2 separate regions of the Homo sapiens genome follow, and region 2 is linked to region 1. Evidence: promoter capture Hi-C in 16 types of primary human blood cells and fetal thymus (Javierre and others, 2016). All regions are on one chromosome and are shown on one strand. The core of a region is centred on a gene start or on the middle of the fragment in contact, and the rest is flanking DNA. Distances in the headings are between cores, read along the strand shown.

Region 1 (5,319 bases), core at 2,356-4,855:
CTGAAAATAAGTTTTAGTTTTATATGAAATTAATCAGTGCCAGAAAATCTCATACAGGTTTTTCTTGTTACTAACAGAAAATTTCCATGGGTCATCAGGAAATTAAGAAAGCTGAATGACTTCCTGATGTGTTTCTCTGTCATGTCAATATTAGCAAATAAACGAATTAGGAAAATGACATCAATAATTTACAATAAAAATTTTCACCTAAATGTACATTACAACAAAAACATTTCTGCCTTAATTATCTACATGATTATTTCCCAAAGTATGTTCTAAGGGGCACAAGGCCCACAAGATACATTTCTAAAAACAGGTTCCACAGTCAAATAAATCTGGGAAATCCCATACACTAACTCCCCATTTCAGAGATAAGCAGTCCCATTAGCTTTGTTGGAGCCTGTTTAACTTTAATCCGTATTTCCCAAGTTTACCTTGATCTTGAAACACTTTTTTTCATAATTCATAAGACAAGCTAATATTCTGGGGAACATGTATTCCAAAGAACATACTTTGGAAAATTCTAATCTACAAAATTGTTATATGTTCTTCCTTCACTAGTGGCCTAAACTGATTGTAAAGAATAATTTCCCAATTAAAAAAACACTGTTCTCAGCCAGGCGTGGTGGCTAATGCCTGCAATCCCAGGACTTTGGGAGGCCGAGGCAGTGCAATTGCTCGAGCTCAGGAGCTCAAGACCTCAAGACCAGACTCAGCAACATGGTGAAACCCCATCTCTACCAAAAAACAAAATCAAAAAGTATCCAGTTGCGGTAGTGTGCTCCTGTAGTCCCAACTATTCAGGAGGCTGAGGTGAGGGATCACTTGAGCCCAGGAGGTGGAGGCTGCAGTGAGCCAAGATCACGCCACTGTACTACAGCCTGGGCAACAGAGCCAGACCCTGTCTCAAAAAAAAAAACCACACACACACACATACACACACACACACACACACACACACACAATCCCCACCACTGTTCTCATTCAACTGTTACCAGGACTGATAAAAGAACATAATCCATCAACAAAGACATTTACCATTGAATCGATGACTTCTTTCAACTATAGCTCTAACACAATTTCCCAAAGTGTGTTCCATTAATAAGCACAGCACAAAAAAATAGGACCCCACGGTCTAGTGCAGTAAAACTGTAGACTGTGACTCATTCATGAGTCAAAAAATCAATGTAATGGGTCTTGACCAGAATTTTTTTTTTAATGAAAGGCTAGACTAGTAAAAAATAAAATAAAAAACATAAGTGTACACTGCTTATGGTAAAGGTAAGTATTGACTCATGTGTAAGTATTTACTCATATGGTAAAGCTAAGCATTGACTAATGTCGGCTGTAATCAGAGAAGTTTAAGAATGCTGTGAGTTCAAAAAAAGTTAGGTTAAACAAGTTCCTTCACTGCAGGACATTTTAGAGTCCTTAAATGAATTCCAAGAGTATTTTTGGCCACAGAAACCTTTTTTTATTGAAGCATCTCACAGGACTAGTGCTCCCTGGAACACAATTTAGGAAATACTGTCTTTTGGAAACGGTGTACCTCCAACTGTCTTGAGGTACACTATATAAATAACAGTGCCCAATTTTCACCTCCTTCAGAAAACTCAGTCAGATTTCTCATCTTAACTATAGCATCCTTCACAATTTGATCAAACTTGCAATAACTTTAATTTGGTTAGCATGAAGTAGTGGTTAAGCATCTGGGTTTCAATTCTAGCTCCACCACTTGTCGGCTGTGTAATCAGCCTTGCATTGTTATTTAATCTCTTTCCCATGGTTTTCCCATGAAGTGTAAGGAGAATACTGGGAATACCTACGGTACAGGGTTTGGGGTTTGTTTTTTTAGGATTAAATGAGATAACTTCCAGCCCCTGGCGTGTAATAAGCATTCCACATATGATATCTATTACTATTAGAATAACACTATCACCGCACCTGTACAGTTATTACGGGATACACGGCCAGAGCGAAAGAAACTAAAAACCCTATGCTGCCGCCTGGTGGACACTCGGAATTTAAAAATCTGTCATTCGCTTCCTTCCTGACACTACGATATGAAGCCGTATGGAAATTAAAACGTTTTCTCAAGCTGCATTAACACACTTTATAAATCATCAAAGTGGGGAATCTAATTTTCCAAAACTTAACAACTACCCCCAAGGCAACCCTGAAACCAGGGAGAGTTGTAAAGACTCAAATTGGCCGAAGAAATGGCTGAGAGAAGACACCAGTGAAGGACTACAGAGGAAACTCCATCCACAGCGTATTTGCTGATTCTCAGGTTGGGATATTTCAGTATAGATTTTTTCTTCAAGGTATAAAACAAAGAGAGCCATAGGAATTTATCACAACTAAAGCAAAATAACCAATAATCATCAATTCGAGGATCTCAATATAAGCAGAAGACTCCGTGGAATCTTCACATTTTCTTTCTAAAAGAAGTGCACTGATCATAAAGGTTCCCATAAATGACTTAAGGGTTGTCACTTATTTTCAGCAGCAAAGTGAAGTGGAAGATTGCAGCAATGACATGAATAATTTATTTTATTTTATTTTATTTTTTTAGACAGAGTCTCGCTCTGTTGCCCAGGCTGGAGTGCAGTGGAGTGATCTAGGCTCACTGCAACCTCCGCCTCCCGGGTTCAAGCAATTCTCCTGCCTCAGCCTCCTGAGTAGCTGGGACTACAGGTGCCCGCCACCACGCCCGGCTAATTTTTGTATTTTTAGTAGAGACGGGGTTTCACCATGTTGACCAGGCTGGTCTCAAACTCCTGACCTCAGGTGATCCGCCCGCCTCGGCCTCCCAAAGTGCTGGGACTACAGATGTGAGCCACCGCCCCGACCAAATAATTTATATCTAGAATTCAGCATTATCAGGATTAGCAGGGCAGTCATTTCATTCCCAGTGAGATTCCATTTAAATTTGCTCGTGCAAGGCAGTTTGGGAGAAACAAAATCACCAGCAGAATGAAGAAAAAATAGAGAAATGTCCCTGGGAATTTACACACTTCTGCAACTGCGCTAGAACTTTCGCACTATACTTAAAACATTCTGCAAAAAGTAACGTTCACCAAAGAAAAAGTCGAGATTCACCAATAACAGTTCCAAATGTTGCTAACTCTGAGCGGTCAGAGTTGTTTGAAAATTTTCAGAAGAACAATCGACATGATTGCATTGCATTCATAAGGCAAATATGAGGTTTAAAACAAAAACCACCACCACGCAAGGCACATGTACAGAAGGCGCTTCTCCACGATGAACAGACGAGACCCTCATGACTCACCCGCAGTCTCAATCCTGCCCAAGCAGAGATCCAGATGGATGCCTCAGTGTGGCTGCTTCTCCTGGGTCGGGAGCGTGGAAGATTCTAGACACAGCCCAGCAGTCAGGAGGCTCCAGGCCAAAGCAGCCCCTTGGCAACCAGAGCAAGGAAGGGTAGGTTACGCAGCTGGAGGTGCAGGGCAAACCCGTAAGTGGACCCTGCATGAAAAGATTAGGGCTGCTTCCTAAACAGCCCAACTACACGCTTGTGACTGCTCCGACTTACCTCAGCGAAGCGCGCCTCTAGCTCCTGTTGGCCCTTCCGGTTCACCTTTTCCCGCCCTAGGGCACTTCCGGCTTGAAGGTCATTAGCCTAAGATACGTGGGTAATCTTGAGCATCTGGGGCAAAATATGATTGATTTTATTTTCTTTTTAAATACAAGCTTCGGAAAAGATACCTGGATATTTGATGTTTTTCCTTAAGTACAACATGTATTGGCTTATATATTCTTTTTTGTTTTTGTTTGTTTTCGGTTTGTTTTTGGTTTTTTTTTTGAGACGGAGTCTCGCTCTGTCGCCCAGGCTGGAGTGGAGTGGCGCGATCTCGGCTCACTGCAAGCTCCACCTCCCAGGTTTATGCCATTCTCCTGCCTCAGCCTCCCGATATATTCGTTTTTTAAAAAAAAAGTCTTTGGAAAGATGAAAGAAAAATGAGTAAGTATTACCTGTGGGGAGCAATGGGAAGTGTGTGGATGGGAACGGGAGAGAGAGGGAGACTTCACTGAATAGCTTTTTATACTTTTTGATGTTTGCTTCATGTGAATGTGTTACTAATTCAAAAAATAAATGTTAGCCGGGTGTGAGGGTTCACTGGCTCATGCCTGTAACCCCAACAATTTGGGAGGCTGAGGTGGGAGGATTGCTTCAGGTCAGGAGTTCGATACCAGCCTAGGCAACATGGTGAGACCCCCGTCTCTACCCAAAAATACAAAAATCAGCCGGGCATGGTGGCGTGCGGCTGTAATCCCAGCTACTTGGGAGGCTGAGGCAAGAGGATAGATTGAGCCTGGGAGGTCAAGGCTGCAGTGACCCAAGACTGCACCACTGCACTCCAGCCTAGGCAATGGAGCAAAACCCTGTCAAAAAAAAAAAGAAAAGAAAAGTTGCTTAATTTTTAAAGTGAAATAGAAAAAAAACTGCAGTTCTAATTATACTGATAATCACACCTATTTTAAGCACCTAACTAATGCTATGTTTCAGTATGTTATGTTGAATAGTCATTCAATAAGAATGTAATATGTTTCAGGCCTACATTGTTTTTGCATGCTACCAAAATGTAAAAGAAGTGGTTCCTGCCCTCAAATTTTTTTTTTTTTTTTGAGAAAAAGTCTCATTCTTGTCCCCCAGGCTGGAGTGCAATGGCACGATCTCAGCTCACTGCAACCTCCGCCTCCCGGGTTCAAGCGATTCTCCTGCCTCAGCCTCCCGAGTAGCTGGGATTACAGGCGCCTGCCACCACACCTGGCTAATTTTTGTATTTTTAGTAGAGACGGGGTTTCACCATGTTGGCCAGGCTGGTCTTGAACTCCTGACCTCAGGTGATCTGCCCGCCTTGGCCTCCCAAAGTACTGGGATTACAGGCATGAGCCACCGCAGCCGGCCCCCCGCCCTCAAATTTTTAACCACGTTTTCCAGTAAAAATCTGTCTGGAATTCTTTTTACTCCTTCCCTTTCTCCAAGCGTTTGCCCAGATGTCACCTTTTTAGGGAAAGCATTCCTAACTACCCCATAGTAACACCCATGCACATCCCCTACTTTGACCCCACCTTGTTTTATTCTCTGTAGCACAATCACCATCTCGTCTGGTATATTTATTAACTGTATCCTAGGACACAAGCTTCGTGAAAACAGAGATGAATTTTGTTCACTTGCTTACCAGAATCTAGCACAATGCCTGGCATGTAAATGCCAAATAAATTCATATGAATGAATAAATGGACTATGACCTTTCAATTTGGTATTTACCAACCATAACAGCTATACTCTAA
Region 2 (4,944 bases), core at 234-2,733, 82 kb before region 1:
CAAATATCATATGTTCTCACTCACAAGAGGGAGCTAAGCTATGAGCACACAAAGGCCTAAGAATAATACATTGGACTTTGGGGAATCAGGCAAAAGGCTGGGAGAGGGGTGAGGGATAAAAGAATACACACTGGGTACAGTGTAGACTGTTCGGGTGATGGGTGCACCAAAATCTTGGAAATGACCACTAAAGAACTTATTCATGTAACTAAACACTACCTGCTCCCTAAAAACCTATTGAAAAAAACAAAAACAAAAACTTTAACAGCGCCCCTTTCTGGGTCTTCCGATTGTCATAAAGCTTTCTACCTATTTGTACCTCAGCAGTGTAGACAAGCCCTTAATGCTCTAACAGAACACCATGGGAGTCATCAGGGTCTAATTGTTTATTACAGTCTTCCCTTAGACCTAGTGGCAAAAGCCAGCTCCTTATCAAGGGCAGTATTAGCAGCTGTCAAACTAGTAGAGGCTTCTACTAATGTGGTTTAAGGATTTATTTAGACTTCATGATACCTCATGCTGCGCAATCCTTGTTATTTACTAAAAACACATTTCTCAGCAAGCAGGTTCACCTCCTATGAACTTTTATTACTTTCTCCCCCACACATTTCCACCCAGTGCTATAATACCTGAAAGTCTACTAACAGGAAGACAAATACCACATGATCTCACTTATATATGGGACCTAAAAAAGTCAAACTTATACAAGTTGAGAGTAGAATAGTGGTTACAAGAAGCTAGGGAGGTGGAGGCCTGGGGTGGAGGGAAGGGAGATGTTGATCAAGGGTACAAAGTTCCAGTTAGATGGAAAGAATAAGTTTGAGATCTACTGCACAGCATGTAGTAAGCATAGTTAATAATAATGTATATTTCAAAATTGGTAAAAGTAGATTTTAAATATTCTCACTATAAAAAAATAAGCATTGAAGTGATGGATATGTTAATTAGTTTGATATAACCATTCCACAACATATACATACACAGGTGTATCAAAACATCACATTGTAGCCCATATATACAATATTTATTTTTCAATTAAAATAAAGATCTAAATAAAAAATAAGAGGCATGAAAACTGAAAAAGAAAAACTCATTGCTTATTTCTCTTTAATTTTTAATTTGCACAAACTATACAATAATACTATTTGACAATTGCCCCCTAAAATTGCCAATAAGTCTGTCATATAATCTTACCTAAGCTTACATATATGTACATGTATATACTAATTTACTTTTTATGTTATTCATTATAAATATGTATATATACACTTCATTTTATATATAGCATATATAAATGCTTGAATAGAAACAGGTTAAAATGCTTTTATATCTTAATGAAAAAATATACTAATGTAGTAAAGAGATGGGGATTGAACAGAGCACCTACCAAACTTTCTTTCAAGAAATATTTTGATAATCAATAACTTCCTATATAAAGTATATCTCTTTGATCTCTATTTCTAATAAGTGTTACTCATAGACAAGTTTAACAAAAAGCCTGGTATTGTTTTTCCATTACCCAAAGAAAGGAAAATCCATGACGACTCAGTCTCTGTCTAAGCAATAACTGTGCTTCAGACAGATTTATTAGAAACTCCCCCCGGATTAAATTTACATGTAATCTTGTTTGTTGATAGGTCATTTTTTGAAAGTGAAATGGAAAAAATATCAGGCAGGATATATTGCAACAGTCTCAACTGACCCCTAAATCATGACTCCTTACCAGAGGTTAAACCAGCCCAGATGACAGAACTTATTCTATTCAGCAAAGCTTGCCAGTTGCCAAGACATTAGAGAGTTAACATTAATAGCAGCTATGCCTTTGGTGTTGTCCATGATTTTGGAATACTGTAAAAATAATTATGGTTTCCGATCTCAGTAGGAATCCCAATTTCAAGTAGTCAACCATTTTAAGTGTTCTAATGCTTCCTTAGGGGATGGTTATCATAAAGCCACACTGAAAGGGATAACGTTAAGGCTAGAGGAAATACCCTAGCTAATCTTTATGACATACAGTCCCGGCCCCCATGATATCCAAAAAGCCAAATCTTTGAAGAAGTTTAAAAAGCCTATTTTGGAATGCCTACAACTGGCTCCAGAGTCTGAAGAAAAAATGTGATAATAAATTACAAAAAGAAAATCTCTTTCAGGACACTTTCAGGACAGACACTTGGTGGCACCAGAGGACCTCAATGGAACTTTGTAAAAATTTTATAGGAAATTACCCCTCAGAGCAAGGACAAACTGAACATTATATTCAATCAGCATTGGTGGTGAAATTTTACTAAAATTGCTGAGGATGTCTCTGGTGTACAGCTGTCATTAGCACTGTCTTGGTAAAACTGTTATCCTTGTAAATCCAAGCCTTAGGGTCCCTATAAACACTTTCAAATGGATTTCCTAAAATTAACCCCTAGAACAGGTTCTGAGTATGTTCATCATTGCTTCCATCTTTTCAGGATGAACTAAAACTTCTTGCCAGAGAGCTACAGTTCTGTGAGTAGAAAAACAAATTACTTGATTTTGTGTTTCCAACCTGAGGATCTATCTCCAGGGACAGGGTTACTCATTTTACTGGGACTGTCATTACAGAACTTTGCAAAACCTTGTCATTTATTTAGAAATTCATTGCCCCCATCATCCTCAAACTTGAAGAAAAGTAGAGAGGACTAATGGCACACTGTATCTGACACTCTTAAACTTCCATGACCAAGAAGGTTACCTCTAACTCATAACACCATGAAGTCCATACTCCCCTATATTCATTGGCTTTTACCATATAAACTTGTTAAGAGTTTGCCCTATGAAGTTGGCTACTTCTCCCCTGATTTTGGACATTTCTTTACTTCAGACAAATGTGGCAAAACACTCCAAGGGACTAATGTAATCTGTTTCAGAGTCTTATCACAAACAGATAACAGTTGCTTTTCTTCTATATGACCAAAAGCTCAGAGGTAATGTCTTCTAGAAATGACCTCAGAAAGAAAAAACAAATATCCTGAAACCATGTTGGAAATAATCCTACCAAGAACTGCCAGCACAGTAGCTAACCCCTGGGGAATAGATCCTTGAATTCATGTCTCCCAGATGAACAGACACTAGGTTTCACTAATACATGGAATGCCATTCCATCAAGAAATTTAAATCTAAGGAGTCTTGAGAAAGCTTCAGAAGCAGACATATTCAGAAAGAAACAGCTACCATTCAAGAGGTATGGATCAAGACAGCCTCTACCCAAGACCTACAGAGTCTGTTTTTATATGGCCTGTGAGCCAGGAATGGTTTTTATATTTTTAATGGGTTAAAAAGAAAAATAAAAAAATAACATTTCAAATCACCTGAATATTGTATAAAATATAAATCTTAGTGTCCATAACATTTTATAGGAACATAGACACACTGATTCATGTAAGTACTGTCCATGGCTGCTTTTACACTATAACAAAGTTGAATGGTTGTGACAGAGACCATACTGTCCACAAAGTCTGAAATATTTACTACGTGGCTCTTTACAAAAAAAGCTTGCTAACACCCTACCTAGATAATCAGAGCTAAAGATTGCAATGCTTTTATTTGCAGGCTTTTGTTCTTTATTTTCTGAGGTACTTTCTTTCCCCTTTCTTAATCCAGCCCCTTAAGTGAGTAAAAACATATTATTTATTAACCATGATGGTTTCAAAGGTCCTTATCCTTAATATTGCTCCCTACATTCTTGGCCACTCTATGGTGTGAGTCCAATTACTAATGGAAATTTTTGATTTGGGGATGGCCTCTGTTCTCTTGGTTTAATATAGGTATTCCTAGCTGCTGGCTTTAAAGTGATCTACAAGTTCTGATAACAAACTTTTCTTTAGTGTTTTTCCACGTTGGTGTGTTCAGAAGTGTAACTTCTGGAATCTTAAGTACTGTTGCATAGCCACTGTCCTATAAAGTGATCCAACAAATTATGATCCAACAAAAGGAAAAACTGATACACACGCACACACACACACACACACACACCACCAGAAACCACCTACATGCCATCATGACTCTTCATCAAGCAGCATAAATCTTGATTGATCACATCCTAAATAATAATAGTTTATTTTATTTTCCAGCTCAGGTTGAAGAAGCAAAAGGGGACTGAGAACTAAAACCACCTGCATCAATATAACAGAGATATTCAGAGTAAGAACTGAGAATACCTGTGTCAACACAACTTAGTTTTTTGTTCCAGGAAACCTTTGCCCAGTAAATATAAGACTATAAAAACCAATAAATTATATCACTGTTTGTTTCAGGCAACTGCTGCAAAACAACTTATCTGAGACAATAGTTTATTTGGGTAAACATCTGGTTTATCAAACAACTATTTATTCTCAAGAGTAGCTTCAAGAGCTTCAATGTTGCCACATTCACAATCCTAAAATACTGCATTACAAAATTTGCCCAATCCCCATCAATATCCTCCCTTAAAAGATCTGCCTAAATCTGCTTGCACCTAGACCCTATAACCCTCTACATAGTCCAATACTGATTTGCACCTTTTGAAATACTAAGACTCTGTAAAAGTAGTGTTTTCACTTACTGCAATGAGTTTCAATAAACATACCTGCTTTATTAACAAGTTGTTTGGTGATATTTGAGGGAATGCAACCAGGCAGTTCTAATTTACACTGCTAACAACATATGAAAGTTCTTGTTTTTCTAAAAGTTGGTAAAGGTAGGAATCTGGCTTTTTCTTCAGATGGAATCCAGCTCTAATACCATTTCTTGAATAATCCATTATTCCCCACTGATTTAAAGGCCACCGTTAACATTCACTAAATTATCTTATGTATTTGGATCTATTTCTAGATTCTGTTGTGTTCTACTAAATAACTATGTATACTGCACCAAGCTATTTTAATTATGACAGCTTTATATTATGTTTAAGAATCAAGTATGACTATTTCATTCCCT

Evidence for each region. The method cuts DNA at HindIII sites, captures the fragments that hold promoters and counts their contacts. A CHiCAGO score of 5 or more calls a contact.
Region 2: a contact is called between a fragment that was not itself captured here and the fragment with the promoter of CCDC73 in region 1, in 1 of 17 cell types (M2 macrophages). The highest score is 5.1, in M2 macrophages.

The regions. Positions count from the first base shown.
Region 1 is chr11:32,791,057-32,796,375 of GRCh38, forward strand. CCDC73 (coiled-coil domain containing 73) reads right to left here and starts at 3,606. Exons shown (of 18, transcript NM_001008391.4): 1 at 3,557-3,606. RefSeq lists silencers at 1,922-1,971, 1,982-2,101. The HindIII fragment of the contact is 7,830 bases long and covers 1-3,712 here.
Region 2 is chr11:32,711,520-32,716,463 of GRCh38, forward strand. All of the region lies in intron 3 of CCDC73 (coiled-coil domain containing 73), which reads right to left. Among named protein-coding and RNA genes, the nearest start is that of CCDC73, 81 kb to the right of the region's middle. The HindIII fragment of the contact is 572 bases long and covers 1,198-1,769 here.